Linked DNA regions of Homo sapiens: region 2 is linked to region 1. The links are contacts of gene promoters, found by promoter capture Hi-C in blood cells and fetal thymus (Javierre and others, 2016). All regions are on one chromosome and are shown on one strand. Each heading gives the region's core, a stretch centred on a gene start or on the middle of the fragment in contact. The rest is flanking DNA. Distances are from core to core; before and after follow the strand shown. Region 1 holds the start of MKRN3 (makorin ring finger protein 3). Region 2 overlaps MAGEL2 (MAGE family member L2).

Region 1 (7,809 bases), core at 2,481-4,980:
TCAGATGGGATAAAAGAAGGTAACTAATTTGTGACAGGGGAAAGTCTCAGATAGTGACCAGTGGATTCAGGATTTAAACCCACAATGCCCGATTCTGGACACTCGCGTTTAATTTCTGCGGCCCTTGCAGCTGCCGGCGCAGGCGCTGCACCCAGCGCTGCTCCGCGCGCCCAGCCCCGCTGGGTCCTGGACCCCGCCGGCAGCCGGCAGTGCCTAAAGGTTAGATCTGAAGGATAGGAGAGTGCTGAGAAGGATAATGCTTTTAGGCAATTAATTGTGTGTTCTTTAAATACGGACATGTTAACCACACGGGGCTAGGCAGCGCATGCCTGAGCTGTTTGGAGTAAAAAACTGCAGGACTTTGCAGCTTCTCTCCATCCTGCAGTTCACTTCTGAACTTGCTCCCTCCTCTTAGGATATTCTTAGACTGCCCGGACTTCACCTCAGCTCTGCCATCGCCCAGCCTTGCACTCATTCCATTCGGACCCCCAAATGCTGACCGGCCAGGGGATCCCATGCTACCCTGCAGACTGGTGTGTGCACAAGGAAACCAGGTCCCAGCCTCTGAGGCTGTCAGTGTTTTGTTAGAAAAGAAGGCACAGCTGAGCCAAATAACTAGACAAATGACTAAATGTCTACTTTCTGAGAACTGTAAAAACAATATTGATGCTCAAAAAATATACATATGTATATATCATGGCAGGAATATAGACAATGGCAGTCAGAGGAAATGATCTCTGAAGACATTTGGATAGGATGGGAACTAGTTTATTTTTCTCAAGATGCACTGCCCAGTTATTTCCAGTTATTCAATTTTTTATGGTATTTAAAATCATGGGATACAATATTGGCTTATAACAGTTTATATGAAATATTGTCACGACAAAACTAAAAGATAAAGTCACTATCAGACTATAAGACATGAACACCAGTGGCAGCCACACAGGTGGGCATTTGGAAGCAAACACTGCCTGGCACCAGCTGCATAGCCTTGGGCAGGTGAGGAAACATATGCTTCTCAGTTCCCTTGTGTTAGGAGATGAGATGGTCAAATATTGTATAGAACTTCACTCCAATGCAGTAACTACTAGCCTCATGTGGCTATTTAAATTTATAATTTAAAAAATGGACATTCATTTCCTCCGTCACTCTAGCCTCATTTCAAGTGCCCAAGAACCCCATGGGGCTAGCTTTCATACTGTACAGCATGCATATATATAAATTCTTCACAGAAAGTTCCTCTGGACAGTGCTGGTGCATCAAGAGAGGGTCAAATATGATTTAGATACAGTGCTGGGAAAATATCACAATTAAGCAAATAATAGATGCAGTGCTAGGAAAATATCACAATTAAGCCAGTAATAATTTTATATTCAGGATTCTTATGTTTGTGAATTTGTAGAGAGCTTGGCGTAGAAGCCTGAGAGCTGTGCTGCAAGTCTTTTTCTTGTAAAAATCACTGGGGCTGACAAACAAATCCTGATAAAGAGAAAGTTTGTTTCAGAAAGTTCAAGTGAGGCAGACTTTGGGACAGCTTGCATGCAAAATATAAAACTTGGTAACTATGAAAAGGAGAAAGATAAATCCAACATTTCCTACATTCACGATGAATAATCAGCACCATTTTCAAATAATTATCAAATTAGGAAAAGACTACCTTTTAAAAACATTGAGCCTTCTACTGACCGACTATAAAGACTATATATAAAGTATCCCACAATTTATTTAGGTCTTCTGAAGCTAAAATGTTTTTAATTTTATTGTATAACCTTAATTAGTTTAATTCCTAGGTTAGCTAACTTTTAATGTTGTTATGAATGTTATTAATTTTAAATGTTTACTTCAAATGTTATTGATGATAGAGAAATAAAAATGATTTTCATATATTGGACTCCTGTCCAGTGTCCTTGCTAAATGTACCTATTAAATCTAATAGCTTATCTGTAAATTATTCTCAATTTTCTGTTGCATTCCATCAATAATTTCTTTCCAGTTATAACATCTTTTATTTCTTTGCTATTACACTAGCTAGGACTTGCAATAATAAATACAGATTTTTTTTGCCTTTAGATTTATTTCAGAGAGAAAGTTTTAGAGACCTTTATTTAGATAATTATCTAAATTACAGATGTAATTTAACAGATCCATATTCACATGTATTTCTGCTCCTGTCATTTTTACTAATAGATGTTTCCACCAATATGACTATTTCATGTAACTTTTCAAGTTTTATCTCCTAACTTTGTTCCTGATATTCTCTAATGATTTTTAATGTCTGTTATTAATGTAGTGATAACATATTTGAAATTACTGATCTTGGGTATTAGAGCCTTCTTCATTTTTCCTTGATAAATTTCACCAGAAATTATCTGGCTTCAATAAGCAGTTTAAGGGATTTTACTTAATTTATTTCCCTTATTTAATATTTGTTTTTCTTCATTGCTTTTCTTGCCCTTATTATTTGCTTCATTCTGCTTTCATTGCTTTTACCTACTTAATTATAATTTAATTTGTTGACTTGGGTGATTATAAATATTCAGATATGTTTCCACTTTACAGATTTAGGCAACAAAATTTCCTCAAAGAAACTTATAGAAAAAAAATCCAATAATATATAAAATGATATATCATGACAGAAGGGCTTCTTATTAGAAACAAATTGGTTAGTTAAATATTTGAAACTCATAGCTGCAAATAATCACATTAAGAGAATAAAGGGAAAAACAAAATTGTCTCAAAAAATGTATAAAACTACATAACAGAATTCAGTATGCAGTCATGATACGTACTCTCAGCAAAGTAGGAATACAAAAAAATGATTAATCTACTACATTTATCTGCAAAAATGACAAAACGCTCATACATGGAAATTAAAGACCATTCCTTTGTGGATAATATGGCACAGGATATGTTATGAAAGGCTGTCCTGCCACAACACAGCACAGATGGGGTTGAAAGAAAGGAAGGGAAACAAAGGGCTGCCATGAATTAAACCAGTAGAGAAAATAAAAGCCTGGGTCATGCAGGGGACAGTGTCTTATTAGGCCAGCATCAGGACTGGTTGAAGTCTGGCGCTTCTAACACAGTGGGAAAATGAGCATAGTAATCACAATAAAGAAAGACATCTGAAAGGTGCTAACTTAGCCTCGGATCAGAAGTGCTCTCTGCTAATGCCTTGCTGGTGAAAAGCGTATCCAGTGTAAGCCCTCAGAAATCCCAGAAAACAAAGACCAAAAGAAACGGCGCCTTGTCAACCGAACGAATTGAAAAAAGCTTCCTGCCGCGATCGGGCATTAAAAGAAAAAAACCACAGACATAAGATGGAGTGAATAAAAAAAGAATTTATATAATTCATGGATGAAATGTTTCAGAATCTATAGGATTATATTTTTTTTAAGGCAGACAGATACGAAAATACAACGAAGCGTGCATGACCGAAACCAGAAGAGATTAAAGTAAAACCTCATTCTCCTGAGGAAATCGTGTGAGAAGGGACTTAGGGACTGCCGGAACACAGCGAAGCAGAGGCAGAAGGCAGACAAAAGGGGCTGGGTTGGTCCCCGCCTGTGTGAACGAAAAAATATGTCAGATTGGAAAATTGCGGTAAAAACCAGGCAGAGCACGTACGTTGCCCCCACAGGAAGTGTCCGCCATGCTGCCTGTGCCCGGAAGTAGGTAGGAACACACAGTCAGAGGGACCCAAAAGCAGGGGGGAAGGAAAAAGAGATGCACACTTCCCCCAGAGAAGCCTCCGAGCGCGGCCGCCATTCCGGGCCTCAAGCCCATAAAGAAAAAATACCGGAGAGGTTCTGGCACCATTTCGGGGTGCCAAAGCAGCCATGGAAGAGCCTGCAGCTCCCTCAGAAGCCCACGAGGCAGCCGGGGCCCAGGCAGGTGCTGAGGCAGCAAGGGAGGGTGTGTCTGGGCCGGACCTTCCCGTCTGTGAGCCCTCCGGGGAATCTGCTGCTCCAGATTCAGCCCTGCCACATGCGGCAAGGGGCTGGGCCCCCTTCCCTGTAGCTCCAGTCCCTGCCCACCTCCGCAGAGGAGGCCTGAGGCCTGCCCCAGCCTCAGGAGGAGGAGCCTGGCCCAGTCCGTTGCCAAGCCGAAGCAGCGGCATTTGGACAAAGCAGATCATCTGCAGGTATTATATACATGGGCAGTGCAAGGAGGGGGAGAACTGTCGCTATTCGCACGACCTTTCTGGTCGGAAGATGGCCACTGAGGGTGGCGTTTCGCCGCCTGGGGCCTCTGCAGGTGGAGGCCCTAGCACGGCTGCGCACATCGAGCCCCCGACTCAGGAAGTGGCGGAAGCCCCCCCGGCTGCATCCTCCCTTTCCTTGCCTGTGATTGGCTCGGCTGCTGAAAGGGGTTTCTTTGAAGCCGAGAGAGACAATGCAGACCGTGGAGCTGCTGGAGGAGCAGGTGTAGAAAGCTGGGCGGATGCCATTGAGTTTGTTCCAGGGCAGCCCTACCGGGGCCGCTGGGTTGCATCTGCCCCCGAGGCTCCTCTACAGAGCTCAGAGACTGAGAGGAAGCAGATGGCTGTGGGCAGTGGGTTGCGGTTTTGCTATTATGCTTCCAGGGGAGTTTGCTTTCGTGGGGAGAGCTGTATGTACCTCCATGGAGACATATGCGACATGTGTGGGCTGCAGACCTTGCACCCCATGGATGCTGCCCAGAGGGAAGAACATATGAGGGCCTGCATTGAAGCACACGAGAAAGATATGGAACTCTCGTTTGCTGTGCAGCGTGGTATGGACAAGGTGTGTGGCATCTGCATGGAGGTTGTCTATGAGAAGGCCAACCCCAATGACCGCCGCTTTGGCATTCTTTCCAATTGCAACCATTCCTTCTGTATTAGGTGTATCCGCAGGTGGAGAAGTGCCAGACAGTTTGAGAACAGGATCGTCAAGTCTTGCCCACAGTGCAGGGTCACCTCTGAATTGGTCATTCCCAGTGAGTTCTGGGTGGAGGAGGAGGAAGAGAAGCAGAAACTTATTCAGCAATACAAGGAGGCAATGAGCAACAAGGCCTGCAGGTATTTTGCGGAAGGCAGGGGTAACTGCCCATTTGGAGACACATGCTTTTACAAGCATGAATACCCTGAGGGCTGGGGAGATGAGCCTCCTGGGCCAGGTGGTGGGTCATTCAGCGCATACTGGCATCAACTTGTGGAGCCTGTGCGAATGGGAGAGGGCAACATGCTCTATAAAAGCATTAAGAAGGAGCTTGTCGTGCTTCGGCTGGCCAGTCTGTTGTTTAAGCGGTTTCTTTCACTGAGAGATGAGTTACCCTTCTCTGAGGACCAGTGGGACTTGCTTCATTATGAGCTGGAAGAATATTTCAATTTGATTCTGTAGCATCGTGCTGTGGCATGTGGTCTAGTCTGCTGAGGTTCTGTCGTCTGCTATTGCCTGTTTTCCCTGTGTTGACACTCTTACTGCTTTCAGGGGCTGTTGAGGCAGTGCTTCTGTTTTCTTGTCTATTCTGCATATCTTTCCCCCTAGGATTATGGTGATTATCTGTGTTAAAAAATAAGTCCTTAAAGTTACTGTTTTGGTGAAATTAATATTAATGTCAGCTTATGGCTTTTTTTTGTCATCTCTGTTGTCAACAGGATTAACTCAGTTCTAGTGTAGTGTTTACTGAATTTCCACACTTATTTTGAAGACCCTCAAGAGTAAATGTGGCAGAGTGAAAGGAGAAGTTTTAATTGAACTAGTAGCTTTGTGCTATAATAGCCTTAACAAATGGACCCTTGCAGGGCTTTGCAGCTGCTCATCTGTTTGTTTACAGTTTGTTCTTTCCCTCCTTCCCCTTCAAGTGCACTTGTTAAACTGTGATGAACTTGTGATTTTGTGTTTTACTTGACCAAAACCAAGTGTATATGTTTACATGTTTTTATCCTGTTTAGCTTGACATGAAATAATTTATATTTGGAAATATATATTTAAGAATTATATATATAAAAATATATATGTATAAGAGTTATGTATTTGAAAAAAATATATAAAAGAATATACATCACAATATAATATTTATGTTTATGTAATAAAGTAAATACAGAGCTGAAAGCTGAAGGTCAAAGCCTAACAGGATTGGCTGTTGTGTGGATGTGAGTTGTGTGAATAATCTTTCTGTCCCTCGCACAGAAGCCAGTAATTAGCATCTAATGAAAAGGACTGTTCAAGTGGGTCTGGCCAAATGTGACAGATGCAGATCTTAGAGGACTTACAAAGCACTATATTGGTAATTCTTACAATGGCATTAATAGCTTACTCTATAAATACAGAAATGGTTTTCCTATGCAGTTTAGCCACCTTCTCATTAATTCTTTGTAACAGCAAATCCTAGGCTCAGAGGCACAGTGCTTTGTATTTGATATACAAAGTCTCTAGACTTTCCCAACAAGGGGCTTTTGACAAAAGAGTTCAACATAAAAGTAACAAGATTATAAAAGGGAAAATAGAACAAAAATATTAAAACCAATGAGAATAAAAGAATGGAAAGATAAAATAATAAAATATAGAAAGCACTAAAAACTAAGTGTAAGACTAATATAGAAAATCTACATACAACTTAATTAGATTAAATGAAAGCAGTTTAAAGACTGAAAGTCAAAGGCTATAAGACTTCATTACAATCAGAATGAAACATCCTGTTTAAAATACACACAACATGAAAATACAGAAACACTCAAAGTAGTAGGATGGGAAAAAGCCGAACAGGTGCTGTGGACTCTCTTGATTGTAGACAAAGTTTATAGTAAGGATAAACACTTTGCTGGAGATAAAAAGGAATGGTACATAAACATTAAATTGTAATTCACAGGAATATATAACTTCAAATTTTGTATACATTTAATAACATTGTATCAGATACACAACTGATGAAAATCCTAAATCCAGACTCTTAGTGGACAATTTTAATACATCTTTTTAGTAACCAAACAAGCAAAGAAAAAATGAATGTGAAAGAGAATGATGCCATTTTAATGATTTACCTGTACAACGTATGATCTGCATCAACTGCAAATGCACTTATCTTGGCTGAAGTAGCTGAAAAATATGCTGGGAGTCTGAATCTTGAGTCCCAGGTTATTCACACTGTCCTGACTGTCCAACAAAGATGGCACATTTACAGAGTTTATACCATGTACTTTGCATGCAAAAGGATGAATTTGTCAGAACTACCTAATGTGGTACTTGCTATAGTTTTTCTCATTATCATGATGAGGTAAATAATAGAGAATTTAAAGGTTTTGCCCGTAGAGTTTACGACCCATAGCTGTGAATTAGTGGAACAAAGACTGGAACTCAAGCAGTATTTGTCCAGAGCACTCGCACTTACCATGTTCACTAGGAGCAGGTCGACCAGCTGAATGTAGCTGCTGGAGATGCAAGTACAGCCTTTAAATATGGATGATTCAGCCAAGTGGAGCAAAGATGGACTTGAATAAGCTCCCACAGAATGTAGGAGCCATGGGGCTTTTATCTATAGGCTGCCAGCTCAGTGATTTTAGTCCACTGCTTCAGAGTGTGCCTCAGCCTCCTATACTTTTACATTGCCTCTCCCTTCTTACATGACTCCTGGTTCTCCTATTAAGTACCTCAGCCTATTTGCCTGGACCTTTTGCCATATTCCTTTCCTCTTGATTCCTCTTAGCCAAAGAATTCACCAATCAGGACACCCTTGATGCCTGACTATCACTGGCATGCAAGGTGAGTGACAGATTCCAAATAAATTCCAAACATCTGAGGTCCCTGCCCTGCAGTCGTGCAGGAGAAAGAGAGATTAGATGAACTA
Region 2 (7,809 bases), core at 2,963-5,462, 76 kb after region 1:
ATGAAGAGTACTTACATATATATGACACCATGATCATGACCCATAAAAGAAAAACAAAATCAATCAGACTTCATCGAAATTTAAAACTTTTGCTGTGTGAAAGGCCCGGTTATGATAACGAAAGCCACACTCAACACTGGGGAAAAGACTTGCAAAATGCATATATAATAAAGGACTCATATCCGGAATATAGAAATCATTCTCAAAGCCCAATACATTTTTAAAAAAACTCACTTAGAGCCTGGGCACCGTGGCTCATGCCTGTAATCTCAGCACTTTGGGAGGCTGAGGCGGGCAGATCACTTGAGGCCAGGAATTCGAGACCAGTCTGGCCAACATGGTGAAACCCCATCTCTACTAAAAACACAAAAAATTAGCCAGGCATAGTGGTGTGCGCCCGTGGTCCCAGCTACTCTGGTGGCTGAGGCATGAGAATCGCTTGAACCCACGAGGTGGAGCTTGCAGTGAACCAAGATGGCACCACCGCACTCCATCCTGGGCGACAGAGCAAGACTCCATCAAAAAAAAAAAAAAAAAAAAGTCACTTAGAAAAACTAAGCCATTTTATCAATGAGGATATAGAAATGAGAAGCCGACAGAAAGATGTTCGACAACTCCAGCCATAAGAGGAATGTAAATTAAGACCACAATGCCATATCACCACACACCTATTAGGACAGCCGAATTAACAACAACAACAAAAAGATTATATCAATTGCTGGTGAGGTTGCAGAGAAATTGGATTTCTGGGGCCAGACGCGGTGGCTCACGCCTGTAATCCCAGCACTTTGGGAGGCCGAGGCGGGCGGATCACGAGGTCAGGAAATCGAGACCATCCTGGCTAACACGGTGAAACCCCGTCTCTACTAAAAATACAAAAAATTAGCTGGGCGAGGTGGCGGGAGCCTGTGGTCCCAGCTACTCGGGAGGCTGAGGCAGGAGAATGGCGTGAGCCCGGGAGGTGGAGCTTGCAGTGAGCTGAGATGGCGCCACTGCACTCCAGCCTGGGCGACAGAGTGAGACTCCATCTCAAAAAAAGAAAAAAAAAAAAAAAAAGAAAAGAAAAAAAAAGAAAGAAATTTGTTCTCATACATTGCTGGTGGAAATGTAAAATGTTACAGTCCCTCTGGAAAATAGTTTGAAAGGCTCTTTGAATAAGTAACCATAGACCTATCAAATGATACAGCAATTATGGCCATGGGCATTTGCCACAGACAAATGAAAATGTGTGTCCTTAGAAAAACCTGCGCTTAAATGTTCCTAGCAACTTTGCAGTAGCTAAAAAATGGAAATAGCCAATCCCACAAAACAGTAAATATTTTATTAGCATCAAAAAATGAATGACTGATACAAAAGTGTGGATGGATGTCGAGGGCATGATACTCAGTGAAAGACGCCAGTCTCAAAGGTATTAATGCTTTTAGAGCACATTCTTGAAATTACAAAGTTATGGAGATGAAGATCAGAGTAGTGATTGCCAGAGGTTAAGGATGTGGGGGAAAGAGATGGACACAGCTGTAAAGGAGTAGCGTGGGAGAAATCTTGGTGGTGGTGGAAGAGTGCTGCATCTTGATTGCAGTGCTAGTTACACTATCTACACACGTGATAAGATGGCATTGAGTTGAGCTGAACGTGCAGATGGTACAGTGTCCACGTCCTTGATGTTGTACTACAGCTATACAGGATATAAACACTGGGGGAAACTAGGTTAAGGGTATATGAGACTACCCTGCACAGTTTTTGCTATTTCCTGTGAATCTATGATTATTTCAAAACAGAATGTTTTTGAGGCTTTCTCGCAGAAGCTTGTTACAAGGCCAATATTTTGATTCCACAGCTTTGTGGCCCCATCCAGCTGGCTGTTTCAGGGGAAGATTCTGAGCCATTGGAGAGAAGCTCCAGGAAGTCTCCTGGGTCTAGAAAATGTTCTGTGGTGATTGCTTCTGTTAACAGCAGCTCACAAGCTGAATTCACTCAGAACAAGGGATAGCACAGAAAGCAAGTCTCATTGGGAGGTGAATGGGCAGCTTGCAGAACCAGACCATTTGCACAGAGAAGCGCATGCCGCTGACACAGCCAGGATGATCTATTTAGCGTCACTAATAAGAGTAGGAGGAAGCTGATAATGAAGAAGGCTCCTCGTAAGTGTCATCTCTTAAAAAGAGGCAGGTACAACTTTCAGAATCTCGACAGATTAGAGGATTGTACTACTTACTGTGCTAGTAGTGTTGTATATATCCCTTGGTGGAATTCACAATGGAACCCTCTGGGAGATCCGAAAGAACAAATTTGCTTGCACACAGGAAAATGTAGCTTGGGCCCTGTATATCAAGGCCTTTTTCCCTTTAGGACCCTCCTGGTGGTCTGCTTAGGCTTTCAATTCAGAATCCGAGGAATTCTTTGAGCTGTCCCACAGAGGGACCCCTGGCATGGTCTGTAGATTTCTCTGTAGGTAAACCTACTCTAACCAGCCGCTCCTGGACCCTCACGTGTGGAAGGTGAGCTGAGGGTTGCTGCACCTTACTCTAAGGAACACTGAAGGCCTTGAAATGCTTTAGGCAGGGAGAGGCATTATGAGGTGTGCACAGCTGTGTGGCGGCGGCACAGAGGCCCCTGTGCAGCCAATGTGGAGGTTTGATTAAGGGGCAGTACTGAAGGCAGAGACCATGAAAAAGGAAACTGCCAAGTTCTGGCAGGGTGCCGTGTCCACAGGGATGGAGAGGAGAAAAAACACTGACATACAAATTGGCAAAACGGGCAAGACCTGACAACCGATCAAATCAGAGAGAAAAAGGGACCCAGGCTTCCAGCCCCGGCAGCTAGGGGCAGGAGTGCAAGAATGATGTATCCTTTCAAGTATCATGACCATCGGGGTGAATTGCTGAGTTCTGGGGGTGCCTATAACTCTGAGGGCAAATCAATAATATAGGCTACATGCCCAGTAAAATGGATATTACTGCGGCCACAGGGCCCCGGCCCCTTAATCTTGAAAGTCCTCTGTCAATTGCAGCCACAATCCTTAACTCTCGTTTGCTGACAAGGTTGATTCACTGGTGGCTTTGAGAAACAACCGGTCCTTTTCTCTGTTGCTCTCAGGAGTAATGTCTTTGAGTAAAATTATTCCAAAATTCAGATCATCTTCTTAAGACAAATATCCTAAAATATTAACTTGCTTATAGTTGAACACTCGACATAGGAGCACATTGAATTTCATCACTTTGAGAACTATAGTTTTTCTTCACTAGAAATCATATATTTTACTGAGGTCATTTATGGCTTTGGAGAGTGTGCTAGCACCTAGTTTTAAAATTTTCAGGCACAGAGTGCAATGACTTCTCTACAGCCCATAATGGTGGATGCTGAGTCTTTCATTTTCTGTGTGTTGAAACAAACTACAAGTTGTTTTCTGAGGAAGCCTGTGGTTTTTTCAGCAGAAACTCACTGTACTCCCTTGACACTGTAGGTTTATATTGGGGAGGGGGGCCTGCTCACACCCTGATAAATTTCCCATATGTTCATGAACAGCTTTCTCTATGAAGAAGTCTTTGCCTTCTCTGTGGATTGTTCTCATTCAACATATTCCCAAATGAAGAATTTCTAGGTAAAATAGTATTACCATGTTAAAGCCTTTTGAAGACAGAGTTGGCTGCATTGATTTCCAGGCAAATTGTAATAACTTATACTTTCACTGGTTGTGTATAATGGTTCCAGTTTCATAACAATATCATTGACATTGGACATTACATGGGGTTTTAGTTTATTCTATGACAATTTAATAAATGAAAACTGGAATACAGATTTAATATTTCTATCTTTATTAGTGAGGTGTAACAGTTTCAACAGTTATTTGCCATTTTTTTCCTGTGATACATTTTGCCTATTACTAGGTTTGGGCTTTTTGCTCAATTTTATAGTAAAAGAGATTTGTGTTACATTTTCTACATTTTCTACATTTTAGCACTTTCAAATAAGTGGGATTTGAATTCGTTCCCACTGTTTTGTTTGTTTGTTTGTTTTTGTTTTTGTTTTTGTTTTTTTTGAGACAGAGTCTCACTCTATTGCCCAGGCTAGAGTGCAGTGGTGCGATCTCGGCTCACTGCAAGCTCCACCTCCATGATTCATGCCATTCTCCTGCTTCAGCCTCCCGAGTAGCTGGGACTACAGGTGCCCGCCCGCCACCACACCCGGCTAATTTTTGTATTTTTAGTAGAGATGGGGTTTCACCTTGTCAGCCAGGGTTGTCTTGATCTCTTGACCTTGTGATCCACCCTCTTCGGCCTCCCAAAGTGCTGGGATTACAGGCGTGAGCCACCGCACCCCCGGCCAGTTCCCGCTGTTTTTTAACCTGTATTTTTCTATATTCCTGGTCTTTGTTTTCTGCTTTTCACTGTCATGTTAGCTGCACTTTCTTAAACTTTTCAGTTGAATATCTAACTAGTTTACTCATTGGTAATGAACACATTTTTCATTGTTGCAATTTATATCTCATTACAATATAAACAAATTTAGGCTTTAAGTCCTTGGCATTACTTAAAGAAGGCCATTAGATATATGTCACGTGTGAGAGTGAGGTTTGCAGCTGGGAAGTAAGCCTCTCTACCATGGAGCAGAGCCAGCCCCCACCTTAAGTATGGCACCAAAGTCCCATGATGGGACAAAGTCCCAAATTTGGAACAAAGTCCCAAATTTTGTTCCACAAAGAGCATCTTGCTCAGGCACGCCATGAGTTAATGGTCTGGAGAAAACTTTATAAGCAATCATAAATAAACTAAACACAAACAAGAAATACTAGACCAATATGCCACTTTACTGGCCCAGCAAAACCTCCTTTGGGGACAGTTCTCAGCTGGGGCATTGCTGTCTCCTTCAATGGACATTTGCTGTTGTTGTAAAAATAAGTAAACATTGCTTGCGGACAAATGCGCAGGACTCTCTGACCCAAGGAGTTTATAGGAAACTGCCTCCCAGTTTTTGGACTACCTGACCACTTAGACAACTTGAGAAAGAGCTCCTGCGGCCTGGCAGGTCCTGGGGCGGGGATCATCGTCCTGGAAAGCTCAGTTCTGCGGGTGCTAGGAGTAGAGTCTGCATCTTGTGGGCTCCTCTCCTAGTCAGCTTCCTAAGTGGCAGCGCTGCAGGACCAAGGATAGAAATTGTTGAGTGAAGAGCGGATTGGACTTGAAAACAGATGCTACCTTGGCCTATAAGAGAAAAGAAGGAATCTCTGGGCACAGATATAGATAAAATTATGAGCAAAAGTGGTGAAGCAAGGAGTAGCTGCAATCCAAGTATATACATGGTTGTGAAGTTAAGCACTGTGGGAGGGGCTGTTGCTGCGGCAGCTGCGGTGGCACCTCTAATCTGCCGCTAGGTGGCAGGAGAATTCCACCATCGCCACTAACCGCATCTGGGACTTTGGCTTCACCCTAGAAGCGGGATATGGGATTGGATTTCTTCCTTCTGATAAGACAGTATGCGGTGGCAAGTAGGGCTGATGGTCCCCTGTCCACAGGAAGAGAGTATGACCACAAGAACGTCCTTTTGTGTACACCAGCCTGGTGTGTGCTTGAATATCCTTCCTCAAAACACTCAGGCCAGTTCATTCCCTTGTCCCTTTCCTGCCTAGACCAGGTTCATAGCCAAGGGCTGACCGCGGTTGTTCAGCAACTTCAGGCGTTGCCGGCTGCCTTCCCCTACAAGTTAGAATGACCCTTCCCCCCAGGACCTTCCCCTAGAACTCTATGTTGATAGGAATGCACCCTGCCACGCCCTCCCCTAACCCAGCCACTACTGCTGGCAATCTGCAGGGTTTCTAATTAAATGAAGACTGTTTTTTCCTTTTCCCTGTTATAAGCCTGGATATCCTGCAGGGAGCACGTTTCCATCCCGGTAGCAGTGTGTTGATGAAACCCAAATTTGAACTGCTGGACACCCCGCCACGGGCCACATGATTGACAAATACCCTTTTGGCCAAATTCTCCATGAAGCGGGACCACCTGGTTATTTGTAGTCCTGCAGGCAGATGGCCCTTCTTCTCCACATACCCTTAAGGACATTTCTGCTTCTAATAACAACGTTACCAGCTGGGCACTAACGTGTGTGCTTTAATTAATCTCCTGGAGAAATCTTATGTATAACCACCCACTGAAATCACTGCATCCTTATAAAGATGAATGGAGTACTCTCCTTGGAAAACAATTCCATCACCGTGGTTTTTACTATAACTGAGAGTAGTCTTGCTATTCATGTCTATTCAGAGAATACGGCAAAACTTGGCTTCCACCATCTAGTGTAAAAATTAGAATAAAGACAAACACTTCTGTTATGCTGAAAGTATATTTATATATATAGATATAGATATTTACTTCTCTGTAGACAGTTTTTACTGATGAGTCATTTGAACGTTCAAAGAACAACCGATTACAATGCTACATGAACTATACCAGAAATGAGATGGATAGCTTCTCAATTCATTTCACAAAGCCAGCACAAAGCTGATACCAAAACATAACAATTAAAACACAAAACAGAGAACCACAGATCTCACTTAAAAACACAGATGCCAAAATACAGAACAGAACAGTAGCCGATTGAAATCAACACCACATAAAAAATGTACAAAGCTTTGGCAGATACGAAACCAAGTTGAAAATCCAAACGTACACTCGTGGAACTGGAACACAAACACCAGGAACAAAAATGTCCCCCCACCCTGTCAGTGGCCTCTGGCCAGGGAAACACAGGAGCGAGATCTCTGCTACACCTATTAGCGGGGAGGGGGCCTGCTGGTGGGGCCGTGGGCACTGTCACCGGTGTCAGGTTCATCCTCATCTGTGTCTTCCCACTCACACTCTGCGAGCGCTTCAAGGTAATGGAATGGCCAGCTCTGTGGATCTTTCTTATGGAGCTTGGCCAAAAACCTCAGGACAAGCATCTTGCTGGTTTCCAGGAATGCTCGAGGGCCCCAGAGGAACTCATACTCTGCGGGCTCAGTGTAAGGGATTCGCCTGTACTCTAGGTACTTCTGCCTGACAAACACTTCGGTGATGAGCTTCTTAGTATTTCCAAAGAGACCGTTTGTCTCCCGGACATCCAACCCTAACTTGAACAGAAAATTAAAGATCAGATCCTCCCTGACACAGTTGCCTTTCATAAAGATGAGGCTCAAGACCACCATCAGAAGGCCAAACTTGGGCCTGTCTAAATAGGATGCCACCAAATTCCCTGTATGGTAGCCCAGCTTGTTGATGATAATATAGGCGTGGTTTTTGGTATCAATTTCTTTCAATTGATAACCAAAGGCACACTCCAGCTTATTGTTGGCACGGTTGATGATATCTAAGCACTCATCTTTATACTCTCGGAGGATGACTTTCACCATCTCCGAGCGCTGGACAGGCACCTTGGCTTGGTCCTTGACTAAGAGGAACTGCACCAACGCATTTGCCCTCTCATCCAAGGGAGACAAGGGCTGTGCCTCCACCTTGGAATTATCCTGGGTGGCACTGGATCCCGGAGAGACACTTGCGACCTCAGACACAACTACGGGCAGAGAGCTCCCTGGGCTTTCAGAGAGACCCAGGGCCCTGGAGGTGCTCGGGCCCTCCCAGGCACTCAGGGCCCAGGATGCGCTGGGCCCTTCCCAGCCACTCAGGATCCTGGAGGTGCTAGGGCCCTCCCAACCACTCAGGCCACGGGGGGTGTTTGGGTGCTCCCAGTCACCCGAGACCTGGATAGGGCTTTGGACCTCCCAGTCACTCAGATTTAGATTCTCCCAGGGCCTTGGGCCCTGCCAGTCATGAAAGGCTA

Evidence for each region. The method cuts DNA at HindIII sites, captures the fragments that hold promoters and counts their contacts. A CHiCAGO score of 5 or more calls a contact.
Region 2: a fragment that was not itself captured here is called in contact with the fragment with the promoter of MKRN3 in region 1 in 1 of 17 cell types (neutrophils); the score reaches 6.8 in neutrophils.

Annotation. Positions count from the first base shown.
Region 1 is chr15:23,561,944-23,569,752 of GRCh38, forward strand. It overlaps MKRN3 (makorin ring finger protein 3), which reads left to right and starts at 3,731. Exons shown (of 1, transcript NM_005664.4): 1 at 3,731-6,101. The coding sequence starts at 3,840. The coding sequence ends at 5,363. MIR4508 (microRNA 4508) reads right to left here and starts at 188; the gene lies at 119-188. The HindIII fragment of the contact is 4,614 bases long and covers 3,272-7,809 here.
Region 2 is chr15:23,637,227-23,645,035 of GRCh38, forward strand. It overlaps MAGEL2 (MAGE family member L2), which reads right to left. Exons shown (of 1, transcript NM_019066.5): 1 at 6,323-7,809. The coding sequence ends at 6,767. Among named protein-coding and RNA genes, the nearest start is that of MAGEL2, 6.7 kb to the right of the region's middle. The HindIII fragment of the contact is 4,818 bases long and covers 1,804-6,621 here.